Linked DNA regions of Homo sapiens: regions 2 and 3 are each linked to region 1. The links are contacts of gene promoters, found by promoter capture Hi-C in blood cells and fetal thymus (Javierre and others, 2016). All regions are on one chromosome and are shown on one strand. Each heading gives the region's core, a stretch centred on a gene start or on the middle of the fragment in contact. The rest is flanking DNA. Distances are from core to core; before and after follow the strand shown.

The links. The method cuts DNA at HindIII sites, captures the fragments that hold promoters and counts their contacts. A CHiCAGO score of 5 or more calls a contact.
Region 2: a contact is called between a fragment that was not itself captured here and the fragment with the promoter of C1orf53 in region 1, in 1 of 17 cell types (endothelial precursors). The highest score is 6.1, in endothelial precursors.
Region 3: a contact is called between a fragment that was not itself captured here and the fragment with the promoter of C1orf53 in region 1, in 2 of 17 cell types (M2 macrophages and endothelial precursors). The highest score is 6.7, in M2 macrophages.

What each region holds. Positions count from the first base shown.
Region 1 is chr1:197,900,475-197,905,416 of GRCh38, reverse strand. It overlaps C1orf53 (chromosome 1 open reading frame 53), which reads right to left and starts at 2,787. Exons shown (of 3, transcript NM_001024594.3): 1 at 2,504-2,787. The coding sequence starts at 2,767. RefSeq lists silencers at 2,333-2,582, 2,753-2,902. The HindIII fragment of the contact is 7,446 bases long and covers 1-4,942 here.
Region 2 is chr1:198,686,723-198,691,664 of GRCh38, reverse strand. All of the region lies in intron 2 of PTPRC (protein tyrosine phosphatase receptor type C), which reads right to left. Among named protein-coding and RNA genes, the nearest start is that of PTPRC-AS1, 22 kb to the right of the region's middle. The HindIII fragment of the contact is 971 bases long and covers 1,747-2,717 here.
Region 3 is chr1:198,462,431-198,467,372 of GRCh38, reverse strand. All of the region lies in intron 1 of LOC105371677 (a long non-coding RNA gene), which reads left to right. Among named protein-coding and RNA genes, the nearest start is that of ATP6V1G3, 76 kb to the left of the region's middle. The HindIII fragment of the contact is 4,177 bases long and covers 186-4,362 here.

The DNA.
Region 1 (4,942 bases), core at 1,538-4,037:
TTGCAGTTGGAATTTCAGTACTTAAAATATGTGGATAATGATTTAAACTTACAGAAAAGGCGCTAATCAAAACCAACGGTCCTTATAGAAAAGTATTACCTTTGCTATTATTGAACACTTTCTTTACCTTCATGTGTTACTTCATTGCACATTTTATACTATTTTTTTTTTTGCTGGTGTGTTATTAGTTGTATTTTTAAGTGAAAAAAGTATTGTTTTAACATATTAACACTCACAGCTTTCACAAGTTTGATCAAAAGAAACTTTTATTGTACTATTTCAAATGTCAAGGAAGTATATTCTATCTACATTCAAACATGACTTAAAACGGTGTCTCAAGTACTTTGTGGGAAGGGAAAAGTAAATAACATAATCTTTTCTGTGGATTTGGGTCTTTGGGGTGATATTACTTAGCCTTGGGTTTTTGTAGAGGAACTCCCATGGACTTTTTGTATAACCTTTTTACCACGCAGTAACTCAGTGCATCAATCTTGTACAGAGTTTTTTTCATTAAAATACACATGAAACTTGCATGTCTTCTGACAAACACATTTTTGTATGAACCACCAACAACTTCTTCAGTGTCTCATTTAATGGCAGAATATTTTATTCTGGTTGAGGTTTTAACCCAATATGTTTCATGAGAAAAGTGTGTAGCAAAAGGACGGGTACAGTTGAAATCTAGCCTCACTCTAAGGCATCCCAGCAAAGCTAGAGCAGGACAGGGCAGCAGAAATCCGAGCAAGTCCCAAGGCTGGTCTGAGAGAGACTTCCCAAGTCCAGGGAGACCACAGAAGCAGATTACATGAAATCAGGAGCACTCAGCACTACCTTAGAATGACCGATTGTCAGGGCCTCACTTCTTTATTTATTTACGAAGCTCGTGTTTGGAGACTTGGAAGAAAAACAAAAAAACACTAGGAACTCTGTAGCAGGCTTCTTTTTACTTTTCATAGCTTCTGGGAGTCTTCTGAGGGCAATTATCTGGCAACCTGGAAGCCTAACAGATTGCTCCTGCGCATGCCCCTGCTCTACAGCTTTCCATGTTGATTGAGCACCTCTGAGCTTGCTGGCTGCCCACACAAACTTAATTTGTCCTCAGTAAATGAGCCTCACGTAATGGTGGCCACAGACAAAGATGAAGCAAGGGTGCTGACAGTTTGACTGGAGAGCAAGATGCTCAGTGATGCGCATCGGTACCCGGAGAAAGGTAAGAGAGCTATCTGCTTTGAGGCTGGAAGAAGGACCATAGTGAGGGGGCTCAGATTTGTCGAAAAAGAAAAACAAGCAGCTTGTTATTTACTGGGCTTACTTATGGTCACCTGGATAGTCATTTAACCTGTGATACTGACACTGATGAAACAAATGTGAATTTCCCGAGTGAGAAAAAGTTCCTTTCCTTCCCTAGACTGATTGAAAATTTCTTCACATGATACTGGTGTTTGCTCTAAGGAGAATGACACTTTTCTTTAATATCCACCATATCTATATTGCGAAGTATGAGAACAAATTATATACATTATTTTTAAAAGGAGAGCATAAACAAGAACAATCAAAAGCTGCCAGTCACTTCCTAATGAGTCTTTATTCAGTTTCAGCACTTGAATGGGTCAGACCGACAGTGGATTCTCAGGGCCTACTAACTGTCATTATTTAAATAAGTCAATTTTAGGCAACCTCCGGGATTTTCTTCTCTACCCCTTTGGCTCAAGTCATACCATATAATATTAGTCCCATCAAGTACTGGAGGCACACACACATAGCTTATTAAATGGGTTCATTTCATACTGCTTTTCTATCTTTATTATAGTCAGTTTCTCTTTTTTTCTCACTGTTTCTTTTGTAAAGGTAACCATGCTGCCTTTAAACTCACGCAGACTGTGTTAGAAGGCGTAAAGGGAGAGAAGTTTAGATACTGGTACTAACAGACAATTGTCAAATCCGCAAAACAGGAGAAAACAGCTGAGTGTCTACAAATGCCAGATTGTAGTTCCCTCTGCTCCGTTAAGAGTTAAGAGAAAGGACAAGAAGGCAATGGAAAAATTAAAATAAATGTGTCAATGTCTTTTTTTCTCACTCTAAGAATCACTGGATTGCTAAGTGTTCAACTGACAATGCAGAAAAACACACAACACATTTTTGTTGTGACTTCTCAGTCCCTCCACCTTCTCCATCAATTCCTTAACACCCCCTTCCGCAACACACACACACATACACCACAAAAGAGTGGTAGTGGGTCCCACACTGCGACCGGAGTTTAGCTCGGACGCTGATCGGAAAACAAATCACACTCATACTCAAGACAGACACAGGTTTCCCGCGAAAATGTCGGGGCTGGAAGTTCGTGTGCGTGCGCGAATGTCGCCCGAGGCAGGACCGCACCGGTATCCAGCAACCTTTGCCTCTGCCGGGCGGCCTCCGGGTCCGGAGAGGCCCGGGATGCGCAGGCGCGCCGAGCCCGGGGCGGCCGCGGCGGGGCGGGGCGGGCAGGAGGGAGTCTCACCGCGCAGGCGGCAGCGTGCAGCTCCGCGATCTGTCGCTCCGCCGCGGTTAACTCTTCGCTCACCGAAGGCCTCGCCGCTCTCTCCGGCCTACCGGGCGTGCTGGGCGCGGAGCCGCCGCAGTTTCCCTCGTTAGCAGGGCAGAGGGTTAAGCTGAGCTGCTGTCGGAACCCAGCTCTTACCCAGAGAGGTGCTGGCGGCGGGGCGGCGGAAGGTTGCCTGCAGAGCGCGGCACCCGTCCGTGCCCAGATCTGCCTGGCCGCCATGCCGCCGCCGGCCTTGGGAGGCGGAGCACCCGGCGCTGGGGCCCGGAGGGGCGACCAACGCGGGCCTGGGCGCGGCGAGCCGGTCTTGGGCAGCTCGTGGCCATCGCTGCGTGGGGTCGGTTCGCGCTGCCGTGGCAGCAGGTGGAGGCGGACGGACTGAGCCTTCTGCCTTCACCAGCGGGCCCGCTGCGGAAATAAAATGGGCTTTTAAGGCAGCTAACGAGGCTCTGATGAGCTGCCTGGACGGGGAAGAGCCTGGTGTTTCCACATCTTTGGACTTAAATTCTAAGCTCTTCCTTCTTCCCCCGCGCCCACCCAGCTGAAAGGTGGACATTTTTTGTTATGTCAGACTGGACTTGGGATCATTCAGTATAATCTCCACAACTGTTAAGATCCCAGAAAGTGATCAAAAGACCCGAGGTTTGTGAATAACCACCTTGGGCCTATCCAGAAAAGGCTGAGTGTTTCCAGGTAGTATGTGATAGGAATAAAGGTGGAAGCGGAGCCTTCTTTGCTTGGTTCTTTGGCCCACCCTAGAATAAGGGCCAAAAGTAAAATCGCACACTGAATAAGAAAAGGTGTTGTGTTCATGTTGCTGAATATTTACAAAATCCAACCTAAAACTATTATCTCCTTTCTGATGGATGAAAGTGATCTTGATACCGTCACATAATTGTATTTGAGAAAATTACGGCAAGCCCGGGAAGTAATTTCAGGTGTTAGGATTAAATTAACACCACCCCATCTTCCTACCCCCCGTCTGGGTTTCAAGAAAAGGAGGGCTGAAGAGTACCAATTTTGTTAGTGCTCTTCAATACTGGGAGGGCAGGAATTGATCTTTGAGGACAAAAGTAGATTATTCAGTTGTACAGGAGAAAGGCGACTAAGCCACTATAGACCATCACTACGTGTTTTTTGGTTTCTGTGTTTACCATGCAACCCTGTAGTCATATTTTCATTTTCTTAAATCTTAGTAGGAGGTGATTGAAACAACCCTATTGGTTCATTAAAAATCTCAGTGAATTAATAAATTGGTATTATATTTTGCAAATTGATTTTCTTTTTGTTGGAATAAAAAATTAGGATCTGGAGACTGTTAAGTAATCTGAGGAGAGTTTAAAATCTGGAAAGCGAAGGAGGGACCCTAGAGAAAGCTGTGGAAGAGTGGGACCAAACATGAGATCACCAAAAATGAACAACTGTGATGTTATTCACATTCACCATAAGTCAGGTCCCCGCACCAACAAAAACCTGAGATTGATTTACTGCATTGTCTTTAAAATTAAGGATCAGGATCCACTAATAGGCCATGACATCGATTCAAAGGGTAGAGACAGCATTTTACAGGAATGAAATAGACTAGACCAGATTTAAATAGAAAATAAATGGAACTATCTTATATAGATACATATCTTATATAGATACATATGTACAAGAGTACATATTGTTACATGAAACTTCTTTTGGTGAAGATGAGAGGGTGGAAGTGGACTGTACAGGGCTTGAACAACAGAGATCTTGTAGGTAACAGAATAATTCTGTATCTTGACTATGATGATTACAAAAATTTACATGTGATAAGATGCCATGGAGCTATACATACATTGTTTTAATGTCAAATCCCTGGTTTTCATATTGTAAGCATGTAAGGTGTAAGCATTGGGGGAACCTGGGTGAAGTAAACACAGTACCATATCTGCAACTGCATGTGAACCTGTAATTATTTCAAAATTTAAAAACAGTATTTTTTTTTTTGAGACAGAGTCTCACTCTGTTGCCAAGGCTAGAGTGCAGTGGTGCAGTCATAGCTCACTGCAATCTCTAACTCCTGATTTCACGTCATCCTCCTAGCTCAGCCTCCTGAGTAGCTGGAACTACAGGTGTGTGCCAACATGCTTGGCTAACTTTTTATTTGTAGACATGCGGTCTCCCAATGTTGCACAGGCTGCTCTTGAATTCGTAGGTTCAAGGGATCCTCCCGCCTCGGCGTCCCAAAGTGCTGTGATTACAGGTGTGAGCCACCACACCTGGCTTAAAAACAGCAATTTTAAAGAGATGTAGAAATGGATTTCAGATTATTTGGTAAGGAGATTACTGAATTAACCAAAATTAACCTTTTTTTTTTCTGTCTTCTCCATTCCCAGTGTCATTTAGATGTTGAATAGATTACCTGCC
Region 2 (4,942 bases), core at 983-3,482, 790 kb before region 1:
TTAGATATCCATTAAAGGGATGTCTTTAAAGGGAGGCCTAAAGGAGAAACATTTGAATTTTAGATCAACCTTTCAGGAAATGGAAAATGGATTATTAAAGAGCAAAGGTGGGGGCAGGAAAATCAGGAGACCAAAACCAAAGCAAAACAGACAGAGATGATGTCCTACGTAGGAAGAGTATACCCCAAAAGAAAGGTTGGGGGAAAAGGACCTATGAAACACTCAAGAATCACCAAGACTTTGTAAATCCTTTCAAGTGAGAATAAAGGAGAAAGAGTAATAAGGAAAATATCTAGATTGATAGTTTAACATGCTAGTGAGTTATAGTTTCACTGAACTTGAGAGTAATAAACAGTGAGTAGAGAGGTGAATCAGAATTTGCTTGAGATTTCATGTGAAAATGTATAATAGCATTTGAATATAGAGGTTTGTAGCTCATGACATACATCTGGGCTGATGCTATAGATCAGCATATAGATACATTTTGCAGCTACAGAGGTGAAGGAGATCACCGAACTACATAAAAGAGAAGTGTCCAGGATAGAATCCTGAAGTTCAGTGAATATTAAGGAGAGAGCCAGCATAGGTAATCAAATTTTCCAAGTAAGAGGAAAACTGTAGCAAACAAGAATAAAGAGTAGAGGGTGTTTCGAGAAGGAAATGGTTGAAGTCAAATAATATGGGGATTCACATGCAGGATAAACATGGTGCATTAACATGGGTCAACTGGATTTATCATCTGGGTTTGTGGAAATGTTGAAAAGAGCAGCTTTCTTGGCATGATGGGAACTAGATTCAGTCTACAGTGAAGTGCAATGTTTTCATCCCTCATCTTAGTAAATGCCTATTTAAAAGATTGTAAAGTTCTTTTCCAAATGACTGTAAACTCAGGTTGTTAAAGAGAATCAGAGATCAGATGGGAAAGTGAATTAGCTGGTACTTAAGGTGACTTTCTGCCTTTATATTTTATCTTCTGAGAACAAACTGATGTGAAAACATTTTCTTCCTTCAGAGTTGCCATCCAAGGAGCATCACCCCGTATTCTTCAATGACATTCCCTGGCTTATTCCTTGAAGTAAAATGCATTTTTGATATATATATTTTTATATCATTGATGGGTGATACATAATTATTAACATAATGACTTTCTTGTTTTCTCATTACATTTCTCTTTTTCTTAATAATTCATACTTAAATATTGTTTTTAATTGATATTGTTTGTACTTTTGTCCCTTTTCTTATCTAGTTAGCTTTTATCTTTCTGTTTCATGTAAACTATTGTTATGTTTATGTTCCCATTAACAGCATTCCGCTCTCCTTATTTGTTCTTATTTCCTTGTAAATTACAGTCTTAGAATTGTGTTGATTTGCAAAAGAGGTAATAAGAAAAAAATATTAGTATAGCAATAACTAATAGCTCTCATGTTTGAAGTGAAAGGAAAAGTGTCCTTCATTGTTTGTGAAGAACAAAACATATCACCAAATTTAAAATATTCAAATTGTTTTTGAGTGTGTGAACATACTTTATACAACACATATCTCTTCTTTATCTGAGAAATACATGAGCTCTTACATATCTAAAATTAGGTTGATATGCCCCTTCTCATGCAAGCACCTCATTCCTTGGAACTTGAAACAAGTTAATTTAGTTCACTTAGGTTCAAGAAACATACATTGTTTTGCTGGTATGCTGTTGGAGACTAGGTTCAAACATGATAAAAGCATGACCCTTGCCCTGGATAAGCTTATAACCCATAAAACACATATATCTAGTCATCTGCAATGACATTTTAGTCATGGATACACCTGATTAAGACTAATAATCAAAATTTCTCGCATCAACATCAGCATGAATCACATAATAAGATGAGGAAGAGGAGGAGAAGAAAGAGAAATAGCTGTAGCAAAGAGTCTTGTGTATAAGAAGTGATTGATAAGTAATTGCTGGATTCTTTTAAGCATGAGTAAGTGCAAAGGAGAAATCAAACAGATCTGATGATAACAGCTTTAGGAGAAGAGCCAAGGAGCAAGCACTGTAGGCCTTGAAAAGGAGCTTGAACTTTTTCCTCAGAATGACGGAAGCCATTGGATCAGTTAATACAGAGGAGAAATCAGAAAGCAAATTTGATGACAGAGAAAAGAGAAATCTTAATGTTACCTGCACCACTAATTCCACAGACCCCTATATTCTGTTGTTCTGATTTACTACTTTGTTGTCACCAAAATGTGTAGCACCAACTATAGATAGAGTTTCATAAAAGAAAATTATAATTCATCATCTGTTTACCACAGAAATGAGAAGAAAAATGCTGGGACACTATGTGAAGCTATTTGTTTTTTAACAAAAGAACTGTGAATGCCTGAGTAAATATACTAGAACTGTTTCCAACCAGTACACTATTCATCAGACTACGTATATGTTCCATGTCTCAGAGAGATTAATAAACTTCCAAGTGGTCCAAAGGCAATACGTTTTTTAAAAGAAATACATGATGTATATTATTTTAATCTAACTTCTGAAAAGAAGGACAAGAGGTAAATTACCAAAACGGAGAAGACTGTTTCTAATGATTTACTTTTTTAAAGAATAATTTAGAAATAATATTTTATTGTTATTAATTGTTAATATTTATTGAGTGTTTACTGGGTGCCAGGCACTATACTAAGTCTTTTGCTTATGTTTTCTTTCTTAAGCACCACAAAAACCCTAAGAAGCTTAGAAAAGTCAAGTGTCTTGGCCAAGTTCACAAGGCCAGTCTAGTATATGTGAGCCAGACTTGAACCTGAGCCTGTCTGACTTTACAGGCCATGCTCTCATTCATCAGGCGTCCCCTTTTCCCATCAACTTGTCCTTACAGCCTTTCCTCTTCATATGAAATTTTAAGCATGAGAATTCTTTTACAGAAGGTGTTTATTAAAAACTCATGAGCTAAGTAAAAATGCATCTTAATCATAATTTGGCTGCAAGTAAATTACTAGTAGTGCTACAAATGCTAAAATAACCTTGACCCTAAAAATAGATATGCAGATTAAATCACAATGTGCTGAGTGAATGCTCTATAATGGTACAAACAAATATTAGAGAAAATTTAGAGGTGTGTCAAGTTAATTTATTACAGAATACTATTTTGACAGGAAAGTCAACCAAACTACACTAATATCAAGCACAATTATTAAAATTTACAGACCTTTTGTTTAGATGTTAAGAGGTTTCTGGAGCTAGAGGACAGAATAATGGGCATACATATACATTTTTTTCTGATCTCATCATCGCTCCATATTCAAAATTTCCTCGAATCTTTTCATCTTTAATGCAGCAAAATTTAATATCCTGGAAAACAGTATAATATCTAAAGAGCCAACATTTTCCTTTCTTCTATGTTCATGCTTACTTCCCATAAAGGCCTCTTGAATTGAATATGTGTTTGCTTGTACACTGATTTATCACTGGATATGATTCTAAATTCCTCCACTGAGTGATTTTTAGGTGACACTAAAACATTGTAATCTATGTTTTATTTCATTTTTATATACTATTTCAAATATGTGCGTGCACACACACACAGACACACACACACACACACACCCCACACACCATTTTATCTTTTTAAAAGAAAATTCCAAGACTTCAGCATCACTGTTTAGACTTAGTGTAAGACTCAACTTGCTTGTTCTCATGGTCATAAAATCCCTATAAACAGATTTTTAGTTTTGGTAACACTTTTAGTCAACATGATAAATGACATAAAAATGTTTTCGTGCCTGAAAAAAACACATAGAATCTATTTAAAATAAAAATTTTAAATTAAAAACTACTTTAAAATTTAAGCCAATGCCCCTAAGGAAATAAGGTATGCACTAGAGTGATGCAACTTAAAGCAACATATCAATTTTAATAAGCCATGTGCACTAGATTACATAAATCTATTTTTCAGTCTTTTTAATGTTAAACATTTTACCAGTCTTAAAGTAGGAACACGCTAAATGTGACCTATATAAAATAGCTTAGTTAAAACACCTACGTAACATCTAAAGGACATTCCCCACACCCCGCCCCCCCAGTCATCTAATGATTTTTACATCAACGTTAGCAGAACACTAACAAATACTTTGGTGGAGAATGCCTTTATATATGAAACAAGGTAGGGAGTAGGTGAAGGTACTTAACTATTTAGAGAAAACTATAAAACCAAATATCTGCAATAATTTATTAATTCTCTATCATATTTTAATTCTTCCTAAATTACATGAGCAATGACTTCAATTGTCTGTTGCACTTCATATGTGCAAACATTATTAAACATTACCAAAATCATAGATAGAAGCCACTGTGCTGAATCTTCACTGATAGAAAAAAAAGACCTGATGAGATTGGTTGTGGCCAGGTGCAATGGTTCACACCTGTAATCCCAGAACTTTGGGAGGGAGAGGCAGCTGGATCGCTTGAACCAAGCAATCCAGTCTGGGAAACATGCAAAACCTCGTCTCTACTTAAAATACAAAAATTATCCGGGTAGGGTGGTGCACACCTATAGTCCCAGCTACTTGGGAGGCTACGCCCATGAGTGTGTGTTGAGGCTGTAGTGAGATGTGATGGTGCCACTGTACTCCAGCCTGGGTGACAGGGTGAGACCCTGACTCAAAAACAACAACAACAACAACAACAACAAAAGATTGGTTGTATAACATATTTAACTACTTCATGACCTATCCATTTAGACTGGAGTATATGGTTAAATATTACTGTGCTTGTCCAATGCAAAACAAATGAACTGATGTAGTTACCTAAGTTGTTTTATGTATGTAGACAGCCTTGTACTCTACCCTATTTCCTGTATTACTTAAAAGCAACAATATATTCTTAGTGGAGTCAAATAGATCTGGGAAAAGCAAACAAAATTTTTGCATAAAGTATTTTATAACCAGTGCACAATAAATATTT
Region 3 (4,942 bases), core at 1,025-3,524, 560 kb before region 1:
AGCATGCTTTTTCATTTACGGTGACTTAGTGCTGCAATGGCAAAGGACTTTCCCCTAGGATAGGCAATTAGGGATAGGTGGAAATGCATATTAGAACATTTATGATAATGAGAAAACTACTTTTAATTGAGTACATTAAGGCTGATCTACAATGATTAAAGCAAAACTCTATTCAAAATGAAGCTTTATTATCACATTTTAAAACCTATACTATGAAACAATTTTTAACTGAAAAATATTTATAAAATACAACTTTGCATCTCTAGTAACATCAAAACCAAAGTGAATTATCTGAAATGAACAAGAATGGGTAGGAAAAAGAAATTGATTACATATGACTAGCAGCAATTGATATAAAGCTACTCAATACGTTAATGGATCTCTGTACTGAATTTTCATCCACTCTTTAGGAATTCTCATTTAGTGTTTGATACTTCTGAATATTGTATTTAAGGATATTTCATTAAGGCTGGATTGTTTACAACAGTCGTAATTATTGTCCCATTCTCTAGATAACTCTGACACCATGGGTGATGACGCTCTGTATGAAACTTTGCATAAGGCTTTCCCTGCTTGCCTCTCTTGCAGGCAGTGTGAGTGACCCTCTCTCCCTATGTATGCATTTAATTCTTCCTCCCCTTACACTCACTTCCTAACCCTACTCCTCTTCTTACTGTTTCAGATCTAAGCTCTCAAAAACCCCTAAGGAAAAAAAAAGGCAAAGGCACATGTAGCTTTGTCAGTGCATTGGAGGGTATGAGACAGGGTTTGAATGCTAATTCGGCTACCCACTCTAAAATGAGGCTAATGATACTGCACAGTGTGGTTGGGAGATGAAATAACACATGCAAGGGCTTTTAAAATTTTAATGTGCAGAGAAATAGAAAACATTATTCTATTTCAATTCTGAAGAAAAATATGTAAATATGTCACATTTTGTCCCTTGATCAGCAATGGTTCCAAATCAAGAGTGTCTTAACTATGCCTGTTTCCCTCATAAATTTTACATAAAGTTCTGAAAATATTGCCACCATTTTATAAAGGAATGGACGGCAATCAAGGCAGAAACTGTTTGGAAAATAGAGGTTTGTTTGTTTACTTGAGGTGGAAACAATTCTCTCATCTATGTGTTGTTTATTCTCTTCAGTGAACATTTTCCTCTTTGTATCTCGGTTCTAAAGCCTCTCTGAGAACGTATATTTCAAAAGCACATGAAATAAAATCACATCGATCCTCTGTTTTACTTCATCTTGTTTGGGTGGGAGGAGATTTAATTTATATATGGTTGTGATTTTCATCATCTATCTTATGAAGCACCGTTTGGTTTTATTTGTGGGTTAGTTTCATCCTTAATACTCTTAAAAATAAAAGGGATATATGTTTTTGGTTATGTTTTGGGGGTTCTTTTCAAGCTATACTTTAATCAATGACTTCTCACATCAGTAAATGTGATAAAACTTCAATACCCAATCAACTTGTAATAATCCAAAAAAGAAAATGCTAGCCTGGATCAGCTAGGTGACTCTTTTAAACATAGAATTGAAGATAATGTGTTAAAGCCAATGCCTGATTTAAGGTATCTCCACAGTTGCTCCGATAATTCTGTTTTGAAGCACTAGATGGCACTATGAATTCACTTAATTTGGAACCAAACTAGCCCATCCATAATTTCAAAGAGAAAAAAAGATGAGACTTTTCCTTAACTGATTTGATAGTCTGACACATATGCTTAAGGAAATGAATTTATATGATGTAACAGTTATTTCATTAAGTCTCAGTGAAAAAAAGCATTCTCTTTTGGCAAGGAAAATGTGACTGTTTCTACAAACACAAACCAGTCAAATCAGCACTCAAAATCTAGTCAGAGAAAAAAAGAAAGTCAGACATGCTTGTTGGGCAACTTGACTGCTTTTTGACTGACTTAAATATTTTCTTGACTACTTGACAGTCAAAACAGTCAAGCCAGTTTGTGTGTGTCAATACAGACTGTACTTTATATGTTACAAAGTGAATGTCTATGTTTGTTAGATTTCTTTCCTGCCATCTTTGTAGTCTGGCTGGTTAGCTCAGCTGGTTAAGGCAGTCTACTAATGAGGCCAAGGTCACTCTGGTTTCCATTCCTGCCTTGGGGGATATGTTCTCCTCACAGAGGGAAAGGCTGCTCTTTGGCTAGGAACTGCATTCTTCACTCTGGACAGCCATCTCACAAATGCCTGATCTTAAAAGATTACTGCATATGGAAGTCTACATGATCAGAATAAACACATCATTATAAGAAGATAAAAACAACTCAAATTGTATATTGTATTAACAGCAGAACCACGATGTCATTTTTCTAAAGAAAGGACTCAAGAGAGTCCTTCTAAAATCAGCTTCATTAACTAGCGAAATTCTATTTCTTGTCCATCCATTCAAATATTGTATATTGTCAAGAACTTGCTTAGGCAGAGAGCTAGCTACTGGAGAATAGAGTAAGGAATAGCCTGTATCACAATGACTTCACAATATAGTGAGGAAGATAAACAAGCAAACAAATATTAGATAATGTGATAAATACTACTATAAAGGTATATACATAAACTTCCAAGGAAGGGAAAATAAAGTCTAATTTCCAGGCAGTTATATGAGCTAGATCTCAAAGAACTGACATGAATTCAACTACAGTATATGGAAAAGGGAATTCCAGGTGAAGAAATAGTGTGTGAAGACAGAGAGATGTCTGAGTGGCATGTCTGCAAACAGAGAAGTGTTTCCTGTGCCTAGAATTTTGAGTATGTGGTAAGAAGTGGCAAGAGCTGAGCTGGTAAGATAAGAGATCTAAATAAAATCAAGGGAGTTTTCCATAACCTAAAAACTTTATGAAATCCAAAGTCTAAAATAAATATTCAGGAGTTCCTGCTAATAAAAACAATTGATTAAATAAGAAAATGGGGGGAGATTAGACACATCTTTTGTCCAAAGAATCCCAAATTATGCAGAAAAGTCACCCCACCCAAGAAGGTGGAGCATAACTCCTCACTCCATGTAAGTCATACGGTGACTTCCTTCTAAACGGCACAATTCAGAAAAAGTGGGGAGGAATAACTTTACCATAGACAAACTTGACAAACACACCTCAGCCAGGTGATCAAGGTTAACATTAATAGTGATAAGTCATTTTGATTGTACTTTATGGCTATGGTCTTCCTCCCCAAAACTCATAAACCCAACCTAACCATGATATCAGGCAAATCCCAACTGAGGTACATTGGACAAGATACCAGTACTCCTTAGCTAGGCATGATGGCACATGCCTTTGGTCCTAGCTACTCAGAAGGGTGAGGCAGGAGGATTGCTTAAGCTCAGGAGTTTGAGGCCAGTCTAAGGCAGTACATCAAGACCCCATTACTATGTAAAAAAAAAAAACAGATTTAAATATACTTATTTTTTTAAATGCAACTACATCTCAAAATTTTCATAGTCATCAAAAATTGTCACAGTCAAGTGGAACCTAAGAAAACATGACAGTTAACCTATATATGACAATCTGGATAGGATCCCAGAAAAGAAAAAAAGCAGTAAGTTAAAAACCAAGGAAATCTGAATAAAACAAGGACTTTACTTAATAATGTAGCAATATTCATTCATTAATTGTGACAAATGTACCATACCAATATATGATGTTGATAATAGGAGACACAGAGTATGAGATATATGAGACCTTCCTGTACTATCTTTACATTTTTTCTGCAAATATAAAGCTGTTCTAAAAAAATCTGAGTCAAAAATTGTCATTTTGAATAAAATTAACATACTATTTTTCAAAAAATACATCCAGACAATGGAATATTACTCTGCACTAAAAAGAAGTGAGCTATCAAGCCATAAAAAGACATAGAAGAAACTGAAATACATTACTAAGTGATAGGAGCCTATCTGAAAAGGCTATGTATGATTCCTACTATATGACATTCTGTAGAAAAAGCAAACTATGGACGACAAAAAGATCAGTAGTTGTCAGGGATTGGGGCAGGGAGGGAATGAATAGGCAGAGCACAGAGGATTTTAGGGCAGTGAAACTATTGTGTATGATACTACAACGGTGGATACCTGTCATTATGTATTTGTCCAAACTCATAGAATAGTCAACACCAAGATAAACTCTTACACATATTATGGACTTTTCGTGATAAAGGTGTGTCAATGTAGTTCATAAATTATAACAAATGTGTCACTCTGATGGGAGATAATGCTGAAGGCTATGCTTGTGTGTGGGTAACAGGCACATGGGAAATCTCTGCACATTTCTCTCAATTTTGCTATGAACCTAAAACTGCACCAGAGACAGGGAAGAAACATAATGAAAAGGAGAATTGTAAAGCTTCCAAGAGTGATTACTCTTTCTTCATGAGCCAACATGGCCCATTATACTTAATGAATATGAACAAGACAAACTCAGTTCACATATTTCCAGATGATGAAATGAAGGTTCAGAACCATTGCTTCCACAGTTGTGGCAGTGGCAGAGGAACAGTGGCCTCAGGGCCTGTACTGCAAAATGTATTCCCTGTACATTGTGTTCTATGCGAATGGTGTCCCTTGGAGTTGTACCATCTGGTAGAATTGCAGAGGTCATACCAAATCCAGATCTTTTGAATTCTAATTCTGTTTACTTGTTCCTCATTAGGGACAACTGGATAAGAACTAAAAATATGTGGGAGTGTTCTGACACCCATGCATTCAGTGACATATTTTATTATTGCAAAAAAGCATTTTTTTTCTAGATTCTTTTTTGCTCACTCTGCAACTTACACTGGAAGTAAGAATACCATCAGTGCACCACCCAAGGGCAAAATCATGATGCATTTCTGAGTCAGCAATTGGGGGGAAATGCATTCATTTCTAGCAATACCTACTGAGCAATGCTCAGTGACAGTTCCTTAATACTGAGAAAAATGTTGAA